Regions from separate parts of the Homo sapiens genome. Here region 1 is linked to region 2. Evidence: promoter capture Hi-C in human tissues and cell types (Jung and others, 2019). All regions are on one chromosome and are shown on one strand. Each heading gives the region's core, a stretch centred on a gene start or on the middle of the fragment in contact. The rest is flanking DNA. Distances are from core to core; before and after follow the strand shown. Region 1 overlaps LOC112268250 (a long non-coding RNA gene). Region 2 holds the start of ZNF559 (zinc finger protein 559).

Evidence for each region. The method cuts DNA at HindIII sites, captures the fragments that hold promoters and counts their contacts. A contact is called where the count stands out against the background at its distance.
Region 1: a fragment that was not itself captured here is called in contact with the fragment with the promoter of ZNF559 in region 2 in 3 of the 25 tissues and cell types used here (aorta, pancreas and psoas muscle).

Annotation. Positions count from the first base shown.
Region 1 is chr19:9,395,576-9,400,072 of GRCh38, reverse strand. The region is part of intron 1 of LOC112268250 (a long non-coding RNA gene); the gene reads left to right. Among named protein-coding and RNA genes, the nearest start is that of ZNF177, 35 kb to the right of the region's middle. The HindIII fragment of the contact is 3,595 bases long and covers 1,208-4,497 here.
Region 2 is chr19:9,322,516-9,326,746 of GRCh38, reverse strand. ZNF559 (zinc finger protein 559) reads right to left here and starts at 2,568. Exons shown (of 7, transcript NM_032497.3): 1 at 2,519-2,568; 2 at 1,967-2,052. It overlaps ZNF559-ZNF177 (ZNF559-ZNF177 readthrough), which reads right to left and starts at 2,568. Exons shown (of 13, transcript NM_001384659.1): 1 at 2,519-2,568; 2 at 1,967-2,052. RefSeq lists a silencer at 2,165-2,304 and an enhancer at 2,475-2,724. The HindIII fragment of the contact is 8,356 bases long and covers 1-4,231 here.

The sequences.
Region 1 (4,497 bases), core at 1,756-4,255, 73 kb before region 2:
TTGATCCCTTTACCATTATGTAATGGCCTTCTTTGTCTCTTTTGATCTTTGTTGGTTTAAAGTCTGTTTTATCAGAGACTAGGATTGCAACCCCTGCCTTTTTTTGTTTTCCATTTGCTTGGCAGATCTTCCTCCATCCCTTTATTTTGAGTCTATGTGTGACTCTGCACGTGAGATGGGTTTCCTGAATACAGCACACTGATGGGTCTTGACTCTTTATCCAATTTGCCAGTCTGTGTCTTTTAATTGGAGCATTTAGCCCATTTACATTTAAGGTTAATATTGTTATGTGTGAATTTGATCCTGTCATTATGTTAGTTGGTTATTTTGCTCATTAGTTGATGCAGTTTCTTCCTAGTCTTGATGGTCTTTACAATTTGGCATGTTTTTGCAGTGGCTGGTACCGGTTGTTCCTTTCCATGTTTAGTCCTTCCTTCAGGAGCTCTTGTAGGGCAGGCCAGGTGGTGACAAAATCTCTCAGCATTTGCTTGTCTGTATTTTATTTCTCCTTCACTTATGAAGCTTAGTTTGGCTGGATATGAAATTCTGGTTGAAAATTCTTTTCTTTAAGAGTGTTGAATATTGGCCCCCACTGTCTTCTGGCTTGTAGAGTTTCTGCTGAGAGATCAGCTGTTAGTCTGATGGGCTTCCCTTTGTGGGTAGCCCGACCTTTCTCTCTGGGTGCCCTTAACATTTTTTCCTTCATTTCAACTTTGGTGAATCTGACAATTATGTGTCTTGGAGTTGCTCTTCTTGAGGAGTATCTTTGTGGCTTTCTCTGTATTTCCTGAATTTGAATGTTGGCCTGCCTTGCTAGATTGGGGAAGTTCTCCTGGATAATATCCTGCAGAGTGTTTTCCAACTTGGTTCCATTCTCCCTGTCACTTTCAGGTACACCAATCAGATGTAGATTTGGTCTTTTCATATAGTCCTATATTTCTTGGAGGCTTTGTTTCTTTTCATTCTTTTTTCTCTAAACTTCTCTTCTTGTTTCATTTCATTCATTTGATCTTCCATCACTGATACCCTTTCTTCCAGTTGATCGAATCGGCTACTGAGGCTTGTGCATTTGTCATGTAGTTGTTGTGCCTTGGTTTTCAGCTCCATCAGGTCCTTTAAGGACTTCTCTGCATTGGCTATTCTAGTTAGCCATTCTAATTTTTTTTCACGGTTTTTAACTTCTTTGCCATGGGTTCAAACTTCCTCCTTTAGCTTGGAGTAGTTTGATCATCTGAAGCCTTCTTCTGTCAACTCGTCAAAGTCATTTTCCGTCCAGCTTTGTTCCATTGCTGATGCGGAGCTGCGTTCCTTTGGAGGAGCAGAGGCGCTCTGATTTTTAGAGTTTCCAGTTTTTCTGCTCTGTTTTTTCCCCATCTTTGTGGTTTTATCTACCTTTGGTCTTTGATGATGGTGATGTACTGATAGGGTTTTGGTGTGGATGTCCTGTTTGTTAGTTTTCCTTCTAACAGTCAGGACCCTCAGCTGCAGGTCTGTTGGAGTTTGCTGGAGGTCCACTCCAAACCTGTTTGCCTGGGTATCAGCAGCAAAGGCTGCAGAACAGTGGATATTGGTGAACAGCAAATGTTCCTCTGGAAGTTTTGTCTCAGAGGAGTACCCAGCCATGTGAGGTGTCAGTCTCCCCCTACTGGGGGATGCCTCCCAGTTAGGCTACTCAGGGGTCAGGGACCCACTTGAGGAGGCAGTCTGTTCATTCTCAGATCTCCAGCTGCATGCTGAGAGAACCACTGCTCTCTTCAAAGCTGCAGACAGGGACATTTAAGTCTGCAGAGGATTCTGCTGCCTTTTGTTTGGCTGTGCCCTGCCCGCAGAGGTGGAGTCTACAGAGGCAGGCATGCATCCTTGAGCTGCGGTGGGCTCCACCCAGTTCAAGCTTTCCAGCCACTTTGTTTACCTGCTCAAGCCTCAGCAATGGCGGGCGCCCCTCCCCCAGCCTCACTGCCACTTTGCCGTTTGATCTCAGACTGTTGTGCTAGCAATGAGCAAGGCTCTATGGGCGTAGGACCCTCCGAGCCAGGCGTGGGATGTAATCTCCTGGTGTGCCGTTTGCTAAGACCATTTGAAAAGTGCAGTATTAGGGTGGGAGTGACCCGATTTTCCAGGTGCTGTCTCTCACCCCTTTCTTTGACTAGGAAAGGGAATTCCCTGACCCCTTGCGCTTCCCAGGTGAGGTGATGCCTCGCCCTGCTTCAGCTCACGCTCGGTGCGCTGCACCCACTTTCTGACACTCCCCAGTGAGATGAACCCGGTACCTAAGTTGGAAATGCAGAAATCACCCGTCTTCTGCATCACTCATGCTGGGAGCTGTAGACTGGAGCTGTTCCTATTTGGACATCTTGGCTCCGCCCCCCATTTCATATTTATGAGATCTGTAGTGATGTCCCTTCTTAATTTCTGCTATTAGTAATTTGTGTCTTCTCTGTTGTTTCTTTGTTAGCCTGATGAGAGGTTTATTTTATTCATCCTTTCAAAGAACCAGCTTTTGGTATTGTTGATTTTACTCTATTTTCTGTTTTCAATTTCACTGACTTTTGCTTGAGGTTTTTTGTTTGAGACAGTGTCTTGCTTTGTTGTCCAGGCAGGAGTGCAGTGGCATGATCATGGCTCACTGCAGCCTCAAACTCCTGGACTCAAGGGATGCTTCCACCTCAGTCACCCAAATAGAGGGGAGTACAGGCATGTGCCACCATGCCTGGCTTTTAAAATTTTTGTAGAAATGGAGTCTAGCTGTGTTGCCCAGGCTGGTCTCAAAACTCCTGGCCCTCAAGTGATCCTCCCACACTGGCCTCCAAAAGTGCTGAGATTACAGGCATAAGCCACCATGTCTGGCCTTGAATTTTTATTATTTCTTTTCTTCTGCTTACTTTGGATTTAATTTGCTTTTTTTTTTTTTTTTTAGTTTCCTAAGGTGGAAGCTTAGATGATTGGCACAGATCTTTTTTCTTTTCTAACCATTCAGTGTTATAAATTTCCCCCGAAGAACTGCTTTTGTTGCACCCCACAAATCTTGTTAAGTTGTATCTGTTGTCAGTGCAAATTTTTTAAACTTTTTTTGAGATTTCTTGTTTGACCTATTTATTTAGAAGTGTGCTGTTTGATCTTCAAGTATTTTGAGATTTTTTTAGCTGTCTTTGATTAGTTTCCAGTTTAATTCTGTTGTGATCTGAGAGCATACATTGTATGATTTCAGTTCTTTCATATTTGTTAAGAGGTGTTTCATGACCCGCAGTGTGGCCTGTCTTGATGAATATTCTATGTGAGCTTGAGAAGAATGTATAATCTGCTGGTTTTGGATGAAGTAATCTATATATGTTAATTATATCCAGTTGATTGATAATGCTGTTGAGTTTTACTACATTCTTACTGATTTTCTCCCTGCTGGATCTGTCCATTTGTGATAGAGGGGTATTTATTTTTAATTAATTTATTTTTTCATTTTTTTTTTTTTTTTTGAGATGGAGTCTTGCACTGTCACCTGGGCTGGAGTGCCATGGCGTGATCTCAGTTCACTGCACCCTTTGCCTCCTGGGTTCAAGCGATTCTCCTGCCTCGGCCTCCCAAGTAGCTGGGACTATAGGTGTGCACCACCACACTTGGCTAATTTTTACATATTTAGTAGAGACGAGGTTTCACCATATTGACCAGGCTGGTGTCAAACTCCTGACCTCGTGATCTAACCGCCTCGGCCTCCCAAAGTGTGCCACTGTGCCTGGCGATAAAGGGGTATTTAAATCTCCAGCTATAATAGTGGTTTTATCTATTTCTCCATGCAGTTCTACTAGCTTTTACCTCATTTTGATGCTCTGTCATGTGTACACACATTAAGGATTGTTATGACTTCTTGGAATATTGGTCTCTTTAAGTTATGCCCCTCTTTATCCCAGATAACTTTCCTTGATATGACGTGTGCTCTGGTCCAGGCACAGGGTCTCACATCTGTAATGCAGAACTTTGGGATGCTGAGGTGGAGGATCGCTTGAGGCTAGGAGTTTGACACCAGCCTGGGCAATGTAGCAAGACCCCACATCTGTAATTTAAAAAAGTTGAAGTCTGCTCTGTCTGAAATTAATATAGCTACTCCTGCTTTCTTTTGATTGTCATTAGCATGGTATATCTTTCTTCATTCATCTTTTAATCTATATGTGTCTGTTTAATTAAAGTGGGTTTCTTATAGACAATGAATAGCATTCCTTATAGCCCTCGTCATCTAACCTATTGACCACTGGCATATTACACACCTACACCCCATCACCAATCCTCAACCCCCATCACTGACCTTAACTAATGCACTTTCCATCCCTGGTAAATATTCTATGGGCGCCACAGTACTTACCTCTAAATTCCCAATGAGCAATCCCACGGACCTTCCATCAATGACTCCACAGTTCCCCAGTATGACTGACCATCTGAATCTCCACCAAGCCCCCTTGGGATCACATCGCTGACCCCCACATAGCCACACCATTGATTTCAGACTGC
Region 2 (4,231 bases), core at 1,319-3,818:
GTGTGAAATGTCTCAGTTTTAAACTGACTACATTAGTCACTAATTTCAAAAACTTATATTGATAACTGGATATGCTGCATTTTTAATATATTAAAAATGATATCACACATACATTTAACATTTTCTAATTTGGCTACTAAAATTTTTAAAAATTACATCTGTGCCTTGCATTATATTTGTATTAGACAGTACCACTGTAACCCCAACATCCACTTTACAAGAAATACAGGACATAGGTAAATCAAATAAAATCACAGGAAAACATCATTGCATGAGAACGGCAGCATTTTACAAGATAATGCTCCTGAAATCTTCAAAGGCCAAAATTTTATTTTTAAAAATTCAGGTGAATGGCGGGGCATGGTGGTTCACGCAGTACTTTGGGAGGCCAAGGCCGGCAGATCACGAGGTCAGGAGTTCGAGACCAGCCTGGCCAACACGGTGAAACCCTGTCTCTACTAAAAATACAATTAGCCGGGCGTGGTGGCACACGCCTGTAATTCCAGCTACTTGGGAGGCTGAGTCAGGAGAATCGCTTGAACGCAGGAGGCAGAGGTTGCAGTGAGCTGAGATCACACCACTGCACTCCAGCCTGGGACAGACAGACTCCGTCTCAAAAAAAAAAAAAAAAAAAAAAAAAATCAGGTGAATAGTCTAGTTAAAAAACAGATTTAACAGATCTAAAAACATGCAAACAACCTGGCAACTATAATGGTGACTATGGTGACTTTTGGACAGCTGGGGAAATCTGATTTGATTTGGGGGTGGGGATGGACAATGAAGTCTTGTTTTAAGCTTGTCTTCACTTTCAGGAGGTATTTGAGATACACGCTTAAAAGGGGAAAGTTCATTCACTTCCAATTTAAATGGCTCATGATAAAGTACATATACAAAAAAATGAAACAAATCTTAACAACTAGTGAATGTAGTTAAGGGTTAAAGACTTTTTTTTTTTTTTTTGGAGACGGAGTCTCGCACTGTTGCCCAGGCTGGAATGCAAGGGTGCAATCTTGGCTCACTGCAACCTCTGCCTCCCAGGTTCAAGCGATTCTCCTGCCTCAGGCTCCTGAGTAGCTGGGATTACAGGTGCCCACGCCCGGCTAATTTTTTGTATTTTGAGTAAAGACGGGGTTTCACTATGTTGGCCAGGCTGGTCTCAAACTCCTGACCTCGTGATCCGCCAGCCTCAGCCTCCCAACATGCTGGGATTACAGGCGTGAGCCACCACACCTGGACTAAAGACATTTGTTTTACTCGAGCTACAGATGTTCTCTAGATCAGTATTTGTTTTTTTTTCTTCTTTTTGAAACAGGGTCTCACTCTGTTGCCTAAGCTGGAATGCAGTGACACAATAATGGCTCACAGCAGCCTCGACCTCCCATGCTCAAGTGATCCTCGCATCTCGGCCTCCAAAGTGGATGGGACCACAGACACCACCATGCCCAGCTAATTTTTTATTTTTAGTAGAGACAGAGGCTTGCCCTATTTTTTCCAGGTTGGCATCAAATTCCTGGGCTCAAGCGATCCTCCAGCCTCAGCCTCCCAAAACGCTGGGATTACAGGTGTGAGCCACCTTGCCCCGCCCTCAGTAAGACTTTCAAATGAGTAACTGGTAGAAAACCCACCTGTCAAAAGTTATCTTCGCATTCATTATCAATTCAATCCCTCCTGCTAGTAAATCAGCCCGCACCGTGTTCCTGGGGATGCCCTCGTTTTGAACCTCTGGGGGAATCTACAGGGCGCTAGAGTGAGATCTAGGTGATGGCCTGGAACCACAGTTGAGTAGTCCTGTGTTTTTCCTTGGTGGTAAATTTTACAGTTATGTGCATTCATCCACTCATGCATTCGATGGTATCAGATCCATGTGCTCTCGAACAACCACCTGAAAAGGTTTCTTTCCACCTCGACACAACTTAAACTTCAAGACCCGACACCCACAGCCAGAACAAGTGCATGAAGTGCTCACCGGGACACGACAGAATTGTCAGGTTGCTGAGGCCAGGAGGACACCAAGCGAAGGTCACCGTGAACAGGAAGGCAGAGATGCTGTTCCTTATAGAGAAAAGGCACAACGCTGGATGTGGAGACTTTTTTTTTTTTTTCCATTAGAGATGGTTGGGGGGGGGGGTCTCCCTATGTTGCCCTGCCTGGTCTTGAACTCCTGGCCTCAAGTAATCCTCCTACCCAATCCGCCCAAAGCGCTGGGAATGACAGGCGTGAGCCGCCGCGCCGGGCCCTATGAGGCTTCTGCAGAGGGGAGCAGGGAAAATGGAAAGGCCGTGCCCCCCGCCTCCTCCCGGGCCGAGGCCCCAGCGCAGCCGCCTCGACCCCTGAGGACAGACCTGACTGTGGCTCTCAGAGGAGGGGCCGCGACTTGGGAGAGCCCACAAGATGCTCGAAATGCCCGAAAGTGCACGGGACAGGCTCCATTTCACTGGGCACCTCCCCTTTCCACCCTTCTACTCTCGCGTGGCTGCACCGGGACACCACCGAACGCCGCCCAGAAACAAAAACTTACCTCAGACGCCAACGGGAACGCGCTGTTAAGATGGCGGCCGTTATGCGCATGCGCCCACGCAGACACGCCGCGCACGCGCAAAGGCTAGGACCACCTAGGGGGCGGGGCCTCGGGTTCCCGGGCCCATCAGCTGCTGCGGCTTTTTCCAACCCAGAGCTGAGAGGAAATGCTGTTTACCTCCCCGAAGAGCGCAAGTGTCACCGGTAGGGGGTCTTGACTGCAAGCTGTCCAGGTTACTGGCGTTTTGAACAAAGAATTAGACAAAACGCCCAGCAAAGCAAAGAAAGAATGAAGCAACAAAAGAACAAGAGCTGGGATTTGTTGAAAACGAAAGCATACTCCACAGTGTGGGAACTGGCCAAGCGGCAGCTCAAGGGCTCCGAAACAGAACCTTCATGAGTCCCAATACCTCCTAGAATTTTCCCATTGGCCACTTCATGCTCACCTCCTGTAAATGAAGCGGTAGCCCGCGTTCAGTCTGATTGGTTGCAGAAAGCAGCCAACCAGAGTCTGAAGTTACAAAGGTCACACTCCTGTGCAAACATCTGATTGGTTGCAAAAAGCAACCAATCAAAGGCTAGGGTGAAGTTACGACGTTACAAAGTTACACTTCTATGCAAATGAAGACTCAACCGGCCATCAGTCTGATTTGTTGCAGACAGCCAATTTCCTATCTGCCAGCAGAAAAGGTCAAAGGGAGTAGCCTCTGGTCCTTTTGTTATTTAGGCGAGGAAAGTGAGGGTTTTCCTTTCAATTTAGTTCTAGGAAGTCGGCCTGAAACAGCCTTAAGTTCCCTGCCTCCCGACTCTATTCAGCCTCACAAGGGCTTGATTTTTGGTCATCTCACACTCAGAGACTAGAATGCTCCTATTGGAATTTGTTCAAAAATTAGCACATAGAGGCTGGGCCTGATGGCTCACGCCAGTGATCCCAGCACTTTGGGAGGCTGAGGCAGGCAGACCACTTGAGCTCAGGAGTTCGAGACCAGCCTGGGCAATATGGCAAAACCCTATTCCTATAAAAAAGACAAAAAACACAAAAATTAGGACGTAGTTAAGAGCATAGATAAGATTCATGCGGACTTCCTAAAAGTGAAAACACCAAGATCTGGGGTCGGGGAATCTAAGGCCAATTCGTGATAATTTCCTAAAGTTAAATCAAAGGAAAAACACCTGGGGCTGGGGGCAGGGCACCTAAGGCCAATTAACACAAACTTCCTGAAGCTAAACCAAAAGGAAAAACCCCATCTCCCCAAGATCAAAGACTACTCTCTCTACAGTAAAAAGTAAAGTAGAGGTTCCTCTTCAAAGACTTTCCTGCCCATCTAATTAGGAATAAATAGTAACTTCTGTTAGAAGCAAAATTTATTCAAAGACCTGTACTAATGTGTCCGGAATTGGTGGGTTCTTGGTCTCACCGACTCCAAGAATGAAGCCGGGGACCCTCGTGGTGAGTGTTACAGATCTTAAGGTGGCACGTCTGGAGTTTGTTCCTTCTGATGTTCGGATGTGCTCGGAGTTTCTTCCTTCTGGTGGGTTCGTGGTCTTGCTGGCTCAGGAGTGAAGCTGCAGACCTTCGCGGTGAGTGTTAGAGCTCTTAAAGCGGCGCGTCTGGAGTTGTTCATTTCTCCCGGTGGGCTCGTGGTCTCGCTGGCTTCAGGAGTGAAGCTGCAGACCTTCGCGGTGAGTGTTACAGCTCATAAAAGCAGTGTGG